2 separate regions of the Homo sapiens genome follow, and region 2 is linked to region 1. The links are contacts of gene promoters, found by promoter capture Hi-C in blood cells and fetal thymus (Javierre and others, 2016). All regions are on one chromosome and are shown on one strand. Each heading gives the region's core, a stretch centred on a gene start or on the middle of the fragment in contact. The rest is flanking DNA. Distances are from core to core; before and after follow the strand shown. Region 1 holds the start of TRAFD1 (TRAF-type zinc finger domain containing 1). Region 2 overlaps ALDH2 (aldehyde dehydrogenase 2 family member).

Region 1 (5,535 bases), core at 1,717-4,216:
TCCTGCTTTTTAAACAAGATGTCAATGCAGAAAGCAAAGCACTGGCAACTTTACTACCATTGTTTAGTTTAGATTATTCCTTTCCATGATACAAAAATGGTCTTAAATCCTGCCCCCAGTAGGGTTCTTTAAAGGTTTTGGCATTATCAAGCGAGTTGCCACTTTTCAAAACATGTATTTAGTCATTTGTTCAACATGCTTAATTAAGACAATACTTTGAGGCTGGGTCCAGTGGCTCATGCCTGTAATCCCAGCACTTTGGGAGGCTGAGGTGGGCGGATCACTTGAGGTCAGGAGTTCAAGACCAGCCTGGCCAGCATGGCGAAACACCTCTCTACTAAAAATAAAAAAATTAGCCGGGTGCCTGTAGTCCCAGCTACTAGGGAGGCTGAAGCAGAATTGCTTGAACCCGGGAGGTGGAGGTTGCAGTAAGCCAGGATCACACCACTGCACCCCAGCCTGGGCAACAGAGTGAGCCTCTGTCTCAAAAAATAAAAATAAAAAAAAAAAGGACAATACTGTGGGCCAGGTGCAGTGTCTCACACCTGTAATCCCAGCACTCTGGAAGGCTGGGGTGGGTGGATCACTTGAGCTCAGGAGTTCAAGGCCAGCCAGGAAACATAGTAAGACCCTGCCTTTATAAAAAATAAGCAGCCGGGTGCGGTGGTTCATGCCTGTAATCCCAGCACTTTGGGAGGCCGAGACAGGTGGATCACAAGGTCAGGAGATCGAGACCATCCTGCCTAACATGGTGAAACCCAGTCTCTACTAAAAAGAGCTTGCAGTGAGCCGAGATCACGCCACTGCACTCCAGCCTGGGCGACAGAGCGAGACTCCCTCTCAAAAAAAACAAAAAACAAAAAAGCAAAAAATTAGGTGGGTATGGTGGCACATGCCTGTAATCTCAGCTACTTGGGAGGCTGGGGTGGGAGGCTGAGGTAGTCCCAGCTACTTGGGAGGCTTGAGCCCAGGAGGTCGAGGCTACAGTGAGTGAGTTGTGATCACACCACTGCACTCCAGCCGGGGTGACAGAGTGAGACCCTGTCTCAAAGAAAAAGAAGACCATACTGTGTGCCACTGTGCCCTGGCACTAAAAATACTTTACAAAATAAGGAAATATAGTCTCTGATAAAGCGATTTAGTGGTAGAGAAAAACAATAAGCAAAAAAATACATATAACTTGAGTATTGTGATGGAAAAGTATACTGACAAATAAATGGGGGCGGAATAGAGGCAAATCTACTTTAGGTAGATAAGAGTGGTCAGGGAAGAACTTTCTGGGGAGACGACATTTAAATTAAGAACTGAAGTACAAGAGCCAACCACGAAAAGACAAAGATAGAGGATGGGAATGCGGGGAAATCCATCCAGGCAGTGGGAAGGGCAAAAGGCCTAAAAGCAATGAAAGAGAAAGTAAAGGCAGATCTGGAAGAGCATAATAAAAAAGGGGAATGACTCAAGAAGGTCTTGTCATATCAGACAGAAAGAATATTGGATTCGATTCCAAGCTCAATGGTAAACCACTGAAGGGCTTTAAACTAGGGAATGACATAATTCAAGACACCCATTCTGGGCTGGGCGCAGCAGCTCACGCCTGTAATCCCAGCACTTTGGGAGGGCGAGGTGGGCAGATCACTGGAGGTCTGGGGTTCGAGACCAGCCTGGCCAACATGGCAAAACCAAGTCTCTACTAAAAATACAAAAATTAGTTGGGCGTGGTGACGGGCGCTTGTATCCCAGCTACTCAGGAGGCTGAGGCAAGAGAATCACTTAAACCCAGGAGGCGGAGGCTGCAGTGAGCTGAGATCTCGCCACTGCACTCCAACCTGAACAACAGAAGGTGACTCCATCTCAAAAAAAAAAAAAGATATTCACTCTGATATGAAATGGCAACTAAGGAAGGCTGTCCGACTGATTTCAGGTGTGCTCTATTCCAGCCCACTCTGGCCAACTCTAAGGCCAGAGCTCAGATGTAGCAGGTGCTTGCTTTTCTAGATGCAAGGAGACTGGGGGTAGCCTGCAGGGTCCCCCTCTGGGGGTCAAGGTCTGGCTGGTTCTGCCAGATTTAACCTCTCTGGGCCTCAGATTCTTCAGGCAGAGGACTGACAATACTTCAAAGGGTCAAGGAAACGGGCGAATGCACGGAAGAGTTGAGGCACAGAAAAGTCTTCAAGCTTATAAGGAGCCTGTTGGGGGTCAGCTAGATCTCTCTAGTCCGCAGAGGGGACCGTCCCTCTGCCCGAGGCGGCGGAGCTTCCCCTGCCGGGTCCAGATACCCCAAGGCAGTTTCCAATCGCCCCCGTCCCCAGGAAGGTCGGTGATGGGGAGTGAAGAAGTAAGCGGCTTCTCAAATAATAGCAGTTGCCAAACGCTTACCGGGAAAATCTTTTAATCCCGACTACAATCCTAAGAGGTGAAAGTCTTGGTCCCCACTTTAGAGGCTACGAAAGCGGAAGGCCACCTGAGTTTTCCACAGCACCAGCGGGTCGGAGTGCGAGCTCGGACTCGGGTCCTTCGGCTTCGAGGCCGCATTAGGCCACTCGCGACCCCCCACGCCGGCAGCTCGAGGCTCGGACTCTAGGCCCAGGCCGGCACTGAGCCCAGCTCCGCCCGGGACGCGGTGGTCACAGCGGCGCTGCGAACGACGCCCGCTTCCCGGCTCACCAGACCAACCTAGGCCGCGAAGGGGGCGGCGTCGCCGGGGGCTGCCAAGGCGCCGGTTCCCTGAGGAGAAAGCGCGGCCTCCTCCAGGTGCCTGAGATGCCGCCGCGCGGGCATCCTCTCCTCACAGCCGCGACCCCGGGCCCAGAGACCCCTCGCCCACACACCCCTCCCTTGGGATGCTGGACCCTTCCTAAACTGGAGGCCACAGGGGATCTCCAGCCGCGTGCCGCCGCTACACCTCACCAGGGACGAGAGGAGAAACGCTGAGTTGACACACTAGCTGCAGACACGGAGCCTCCTCTGTCAGACCCCGCACTGAACAACGGCCCTCAGAGCTGCCTCACCACTTCCGCCCATCGCGGAGGAGCGCGCCCATTGGCCAGGGGCGGCTCCAGCTGTCGGCCCATTGGATAACACCGTTGTCGCTCCCAGGGCCCCGCCTTCTGCGCGTCGATTGGCTCCCTGGAGGCCCACGGGGGCGTGTCCCTGGAAGCCCTGGCCCCTGCACATCTGGAACCAGAGGCACGAAGCTGAGCTGTGAGCCTGTTGCTGAGTTTAGCAACTGTCCCCGACACAGGCTAATAATATTTGCATGAATAATTCTGTACAAACATTACTAATATGCTTAATATATTGAGATAATTAATGGTATTTGTTCTTTTCTCATGGGCCGTTAATACTTATTAGTCATTCTTATTGCTATGATAATGCCCTTGTGCAAGACTTCTGCAGATCTGTGACCATATTTTTTGAGCACTTTGCTTTTTTGCAGTGGAAGAATGAGAGCCTGAGATGCAGGTTTGAGAGCTAGTTTCTCCACTTGCTGCCTGAATGGATTCCCTGAGCTTCTCTTACCTCATGTATAATAAAGGAGAGAATAATTATATAAGTATAACCAAGCACATATTACAAACCAACTTATAATTATATAAGTATAACCAAGCACATATTACAAACAATACAGCAATTTAAAATTATGATTCCATTGCAGATTATAATTGCAAAATATGGAGGCCAAGGCGGGTGGATCTCTTGAGCTCAGGAATTAGAGACCAGCCTGGGCAATATAATGAAACCATATCTCTACAAAAAAAATACAAAAATTAGCCAGGCGTGGTGGCACGCACCTGTAGTTCCACCTCCTTGGGAGGCTGAGGTGGAAGGATCCCTCGAGCCCAGGAGGCAGGGCTGGAGTGAGCCCTGATCATGCTACCGCACTCCAGCCTGGGGGACAGAGAAAGACCCCGTCTCAAAAATAATATAATATAATATAATATAATATAATATAATATAATATAATATAATTGCAAAATGTTAATGAGATAGTACTAAGCAAGAAAAGCATCTAACAGGCTGGGCGCGGTGGCTCACGCCTGTAATGCCAACACTTTGGGAGGCAGAGGCTGGTGGATCACCTGAGGTCAGGAGTTCAAGACCAGCCTGGCCAACATGGTGAAACACCGTTTCTACTAAAAATACAAAAATTAGCTGGCCGTGGTGGCAGGCGCCTATGATCCCAGCTACTTGGGAGGCTGAGACAGGAGAATCGCTTGAACCCAGGAGGTGAAGGTTGCAGTGAGCCGAGATTGAGCCACTGCACTCCAGCCTGGGCAACAAAATCAAAACTCCGTCTCAAAGCAATATTTATAACAAGATAAAATATTTAGCTTAAATATGCAATATAACTTGTGTGATTCCAAACATATAAAGTTTAAAACCAGGGAAAATTAACCTAAAGTGAGAGAAGTAAGTAACTGGTTCCATTCAGAGGGTATATAGCCTGTAAGGAGATATGAGAAAGATTTTCTAGAAATGTTTATATCTTGATCAGCAAAGTGATTAACACAGATGGATTAATTAGTAAATAGTTATTAAGCTACACACCTATATCTTAAGCACTTTACATTGTATGTTACATTTTAATAACAAAACTTACTGGAGTTCAAAAGAAAGCACAATCATTAACAGTTAAAAAGCAATCAGAAAAAATGTGTATTAATATGAATTAAGTATATTAATGTATTAAGTATATATAAAGAAAAAAGATAACCATATAGTGTGTTCTTTTATGAATAAGGTGTTTTAACTCAGCATAATGTTTTTGAGGTTTATCCATGCTGTTGATAATATCAAGTCTATTCCTTTTCAGTGCCAAGTAGCATAGCACATGGATATGCCACAATTTATACTGACAAACATTAGAGCTGGTTCTAGTTTTTGGCCAGGCATGGTGGCTCACGCCCACAATCCCAGCACTTCGGCAGGTCAAGGTGGGTGGATCGCCTGAGCTCAGGAGTTCCAGACCAGCCTGGGCAACATAACAAAACCCTGTCTCTACAAAAAATACAAAAATGTAGCCAGGCGTGGTGGCTCATGCGTGTAGTCCCAGCTACTTGGGAGGCTAAGGTGAGAAGATTGCTTGAGCCTGGGAGGCAGAGGTTTCAGCGAGCTGATATGGCACCACTGCACTCCAGCCTGGGTGACAGAGCAAGACTCCATCTCAAAAAAAAAAATTGATTCTAGTTTAAGCAGTAGTAACCATTCTTGTGCAAGTCTTTGGGGATATATGTTTTTATTTCTCTCAGATAAACACTTGGAAGTGGGATTGCTGGATCATACGGTAAGTCTATGTTTTAACTTTACAAGAAACTACCAAACTGTTTTCCGAAGTGATTGCACAACTAAACGTTCCCAACAGTAGTGTAGGAGAGTTTCAGTTGCTCCGTATAGTCATCCACTTGGTATAAACACATTTTGAATAAATAAACAGGAGAATGGCAGTCCTGTCTTCCGTTGCCTGAGTGACCCAGAAGCTCCTCTAAATTCATAGTTCACAGTGGGAGGAGACAACAAGGTCCAGGGTAGCAAGGA
Region 2 (5,535 bases), core at 1,667-4,166, 350 kb after region 1:
AAAATTAGCCAAGTGTGGTCGCATGCGCCTGTAATCCCAGCTACTTAGGAGGCTGAGATGGACGGATCACTTGCTTGAGTCTGGGAGGTTGAGGCTGCAGTGAGCCATGATCACACCACTGCCTCCAGCATGGGTGACAGAGCAAGACCCTCTCTCAAAAAAGAAAACACAAAAAGGAGCAGAGGTTCAAGACAAGAATCTGGGTGGCCAGGCACAGTGGCTCACGCCTGTAATCCTAACAATTTGGGAGGCCAAGGTGGGAGGATTGCTTGAGCTCAGGAGTTTGAAACCAACATGGGTAACATAGTGAGACCCTCTCTCCACAAAAAGTGAAAAATTAGCCAGGTGTGGTTGCGTGCCTATAGTCTCAGCTACTCAGGAGGCTGAGGTGGGAGGACCATTTGAGCCTGGGAGGTTGAGGCTGCAGTAAGCCGTGATTGCATCACTGCACTCCAGCCTGGGTGACAGAAAAAGACTCTTAAAAAAAAAAAAAGAATCTGGACGAATATGGGCTTTTTTTTTTTTCCTGAGACAGAGTCTCATTCTGTTGCCCAGGCTGGAGTGCAGTGGCGCAATCTCAGCTCACTGCACTCCAACCTCCCAGGTTCACACCATTCTCCTGCCTCAGCCTCCCAAGTAGCTGGGACTATAGGCGCCTGCCACCATGCCCGGCTAATTTTTCTGTGTTTTTAGTAGAGACGGGGTTTCACCGAGTTAGCCAAGATGGTCTCAATCTCCTGACCTCGTGATCCGCCCGTCTGGGCCTCCCAAAGTGCTGGGATTACAGGTGTGAGGGTTTTTTTTTTCTTTTTTTTTAGACAAAGTCTGGCTCTTGTTCCCCAGGCTGGAGTGCAATGGAGCGATCCCGGCTCACTGCAACCTCCGCCTTTCAGGTTCAAGCGATTCTCCTGCCTCAGCCTCCTGAGTAGCTGGGATTACAGATGCCTGCCACCATGCCCGGCTAATTTTTGTATTTCTAGTAGAGACGGGGTTTCACCATGTTGGCCAGGCTGGTCTCCAACTCCTGACCTCAGGTGATCCACTCACCTCGGCCTCCCAAAGTGCTGGGATTACAGGCGTGAGCCACCGCGCCTGGCCGAATATGGGCTCTTTTGCTCCTGATTTTGTCACATGGGACAAGCACCTCACCCCTGTGTCTTTGTTTCCTCATCTGTAGGGTGGGAATCACCCTAGAGCCCCCTTTTTATAAAGCCATGTGAGGGTCTGCAGTCTCTGCGCCAAGCATGGAGTGAATGCCCAACGCCATGACGATGGCAGGGTGGAAACAGAGTGCCCCAGGAAGGAGTCGTTCAGGTAAGGGCCTAGCAGGAATCATATTCCCAGGCTGAAATTTGTTCCGCATAATCTCTATGGTGGAACCCGCAGTTGTGCACCCACAGGAAAGGCTCTTGGCACCGGAGAAGAACATGGGTAAACATTAACTGGGGTTCTGGAGGCGTGCTTGTGTGGTTTCATATTAGTTAGTCAATCGTTAATTTTTAGGGAAATGGCACCCTTCTTTCTTTCCACGGGAGGGCTGGGTCATTTCCAGTGTGGGGACAGGTGTGGCAATAAAGAGCTCAGGTTCAAAGCCAGGAAACTGCCAGACCTAAGTTCAAGTTGGACTATGCCGTGCCTGGGCAGCAGGTCCTGGGTGTTTACTCCCCGACTCTGAAAGTCAGCTCCTCCTCGGGGTGCCCGTGGAGGAGAAGGGAGTTCCCGGGTCTGCCTGCTGGAAGATGGGGGCTCACGGGCGTGGGGGGCGGGCAGGCAGCTTGCAGCCATTGAGTAGGCATCCTTCTCTCCTTCCCCCTGTAGCACAGGCTCAGGGTTCACGCCTCACACACAACTGCCTCACAGCAAAGCACTTGGGTCAGCAGGGTTAGGAGAGTACAGAGAAGCACTAGGCTGGGCTGGGTGGAAGTAGGTCTGGTTGGCCTTGTACTATCCCCAAGCTTCTTCCTCCCCCACCCAGGGAGGAAGTCCACTCAGCCCTCTGCGTGTCATGGACATGGCTAACATTCACTAGCTACCCCTCAAGAACCAGCCCCACACCAGCGGTTCTGTGTACTTGGATTGTTCCCATTTAAACCTCATAGCAAACCTAGGAGGTGAACTTCATCCTCTCCACTTCACAGCAGAGGATGCTGGGCACAGAAGAGTCCAGCCACTTGGCTCTAGGTCACACAGCAGCAAAGGCAGAGCCAGGCTTTGAAGCCAGGTCTTTGGGACTCCAAGGCCTGTGTTTTTCCCAACTCCAACCTCCAGCCATAGCCCAGGTCTGCCTTCAAGGAGGTTGGAATTCTGATTCCCAAATCTCCATCTTTATGGTTTACTTACTGACTCAACACACGTTGATTTCACATTTTGATTCTGAGCCAGGCACAGTGGCTCATCCCTGTAATCCCAGCACTTTGGGAGGCCAAGGCAGGTGGATCATTTGAGGTCAGGAGTTCGAGACCAGCCTGGACAACATGGTGAAACCCTGTCTCTACTAAAAATGCAAAAATTAGCTGGGCATGGTGTCACTTGCCTGTAATCCCAGCTACTCGACAGGCTGAGGCAGGAGAATTGCTTGAACCTAGGAGATGGAGGTTGCAGTGAACCAAGATTGCACCACTGTACTCCAGCCTGGGCAACAGAGTCTCAAAAAAAAAAAAAATTTTATTCTGAATGTTGTAAAAAGCACCAACCTCAAAGCCAAACAGATCTGGGTTTGAATTTTTTTTCTTAAATAAAGGTGGGATTTTTTTTGTATTTTTTGTAGAGATGGGCTTTCACCATGTTGGCCAGGCTGGTCCCAAACTCCTGTGCTCAAGTGATCCTCCTGCCTTGGACTCCTAAAGTGCTGGGATTACAGCTGTGCGCCACCATGCCCGGCCTGGGTTTGAATTCTGACTCCATCCCTCACAGATTTGACCCTGGGCAAATCCCTTCACTTCCCAGATGCCTCATCGAGTACTTCTGGGGGCTGATGTGAAGGTTAAATGCAAGAACGAGTGTACAGTTCCTAAGCTAGGACCTTGCCCGCAGGGGGTCCTGCAGTGTTCTAGATCCTGCAGCTCTCTCGTAGCTTAAAGATTCTTAGGAGCGAGGGCCAGGTCTATACTCTTTATGTTGTTCCCTGCACCAAAGCATACTAAATTGTCCTGGATTTTAAACTTTATTTTGCAAAGATCAGGAAGTAGGAAGGGGAGAGGTGGGCCAGTCTGGCTAAAACCCCACCAGCCCCACCCCTTCCTCGCTGGGCTGGCCCCTCTGATTTAGATTAGGATCCTGGAAAGACCACTCCCTGGCATGTTTGCCTTTCAAAGCCCAGAATGTTCTCAATCACCCTTCACTGTTGAACCAGGCTGCATTTTCAACAACCCATCCTCCCTTCTCCACTGATAAGATAAACCTGGGTCTGCTGTAGGACGCTGGAAACCTCCTCCGGTTTACATTTCCCATTTCCCTTCTCCCAGAGCCAGACTCAGTGGCTTCCCTCCCCGGTGGGGGGCTGGGTAGGAACTGTTCTCACACTGAGTTTCTGCCAAAGTTCTGCTTCAAGTGAGGAGCAGTTTTCCTGAATAAACACCAGGCCAGACTCTGGGCCAAATGCTTTATAACCTCCTGACCAGAAACCCGAAGCTCGACTTACATAACACACGTAAACGCTCTTGGGCGGGGCGTGGTGGGGGGATGTCCTAGCTCCCACTTCCTCTTTATAGTTTCCAGAAGCACAGTGATGTCTGGAGTTGACATTTTCAATCTAGACTGTAGGCAAAACATAAAGATTTTCTATCAAAATACTCTAATTCCTACATATTTTAATAAATACATCTCACTTTGTTTTGTAAAAATTGGATTCATTCACCCACGCATTCCATAAGCTTTCACTGACAGCCCTGGCCACTCCAGCACAGGGAGTCCAAGAGCCAAGTCCTGGCTTGTGGGAGCTGAAGTCCTGGTGAGGAGAGGGCGCAGGAAACAAGCAAAACCAAGCAAGTGAGAAGCAGGAGGAGGCTTGGCCAGCTGAGGGGTCTGAAGGGTGACTGCTAGGAAGAGCCTGGGGACAGGAGGAGTGGCTGCAGGGTGTAGGTGAGGGGAGAGCGGGGGGCTCGCGATTCTACCTGCTGTGTGCCAGGATCTGCACTTGATGCTGGGAGGACCCAGGAGACCAGAGAACCGGGACACTGCCGTGTCCTTTCTAAGTGGGGGTAATAGACTTGCTGTTTGCTAACTCGCTTTTCTCAGTTTCTCTTGGACGTTATTCCACAGGCAGCTCTGCCTCATGTTAAGCCACATAGCGTTCCTCAACACGGTCAGGCCATGGTTTATTTAACGATTTCCTACAAATGCACTTTTAGGACAAGTGATCGCCATTCCAGCAACAGCTGTGGCGAACCCTTTCACATGCGTTTTTCCAAACATGGGGCAGATTACTGTGTAGAAATTAGAACTACTGAGTTAGAGGGTAACAGGATCCCTCTTCACCTTGGCTATCTTGTTCTCCATGCCAGGCAGAGACTTAGTGGTGATTGTGGTGGTCGAGGGGCTCAGGAGCTGGGGCAGGGTCAGTGCCCAGAGCAGGACAACTGGACCTTGGGGGCGGAGGTCAGACCAAGGCCAGGAGAGAATGAAATTCTGGCCACCACCCCCAGACCTCATGACAATGGGTGGTTATCATCTGCCCAGGGTCTCCAATGAAAGGCTAAACTGTGTTCAGTAATCATCTGCCCAGGGTCTCCAATGAAAGGCTAAACTGTGTTCAGTAGTTCTGATTTAAGGAGGCAGGATACATTCTAGAAAGATTTCAGTTCAAGCTTTGATGCATGAGAGAACTGGACATGTTACCTAGGAAATCCCCGTCCCTGGAACACCGTATTTTCCCAAAGAGTGAGCAAGCTAATGGCGCGGTTTTGCAGCCTGGGATGATCCCAACGGCATGTGCTCTTTCACTTGCTAATCTGCGGTTAGGTGATTATGTCCGATGGAAAGCAGATGCCATTGCTTGTATTACAAGATTCCAGGGAGTAAAGTTCAAGACAAACACGGAATGCCACACACATTCCCTCTTCCCCACACATAATCCAGAACCCCAGGTTAGTTGGGGATCAAGGCGAGGGGCAGTCATCTCCCCAGGCTTGCTCGGGACACTCCCGAACCAAGACTAACCCAGGCAGACAGACGCCAGCCCTCTGCCCCACTCCCCCACCCCAGGGCCTTTTTTCACCACTTCAAAGATGGGAGTTTCAATTCCACTTTGGACTGTTTGCCAGACAGGCGCGGTTTCAACTTGTTCTGCTTACGGTTTGGCAACCTCTATCTTGCTGCAATGGACTTTCCCTGAGCCAGTTTCACCACTCCCTATGCGTCCCCATGTTCCCACTCTTTTAAACTTCCAAATACTTTGCAATAAGGTCCTTTTGAGTAGAAATACTGGGTTCTCATTAAGCAACCCTTTACCTCACTTCTGGAGCACAAAACTGTAAACATGGTTTCGTAAATGGCAACCATTCATTATTCAATAAATATTTACCCAACAGTGATCCT

The links. Contacts are between HindIII fragments. The CHiCAGO score rates a contact against its expected background, and 5 or more counts as called.
Region 2: a fragment that was not itself captured here is called in contact with the fragment with the promoter of TRAFD1 in region 1 in 1 of 17 cell types (monocytes); the score reaches 5.6 in monocytes.

Annotation. Positions count from the first base shown.
Region 1 is chr12:112,122,991-112,128,525 of GRCh38, reverse strand. TRAFD1 (TRAF-type zinc finger domain containing 1) reads right to left here and starts at 2,966. Exons shown (of 12, transcript NM_006700.3): 1 at 2,908-2,966. RefSeq lists enhancers at 2,440-2,509, 2,920-2,969, 2,947-3,241. The HindIII fragment of the contact is 16,634 bases long and covers 2,177-5,535 here.
Region 2 is chr12:111,773,826-111,779,360 of GRCh38, reverse strand. The region is part of intron 1 of ALDH2 (aldehyde dehydrogenase 2 family member); the gene reads right to left. Among named protein-coding and RNA genes, the nearest start is that of ALDH2, 9.7 kb to the right of the region's middle. RefSeq lists an enhancer at 3,764-3,953. The HindIII fragment of the contact is 1,917 bases long and covers 1,958-3,874 here.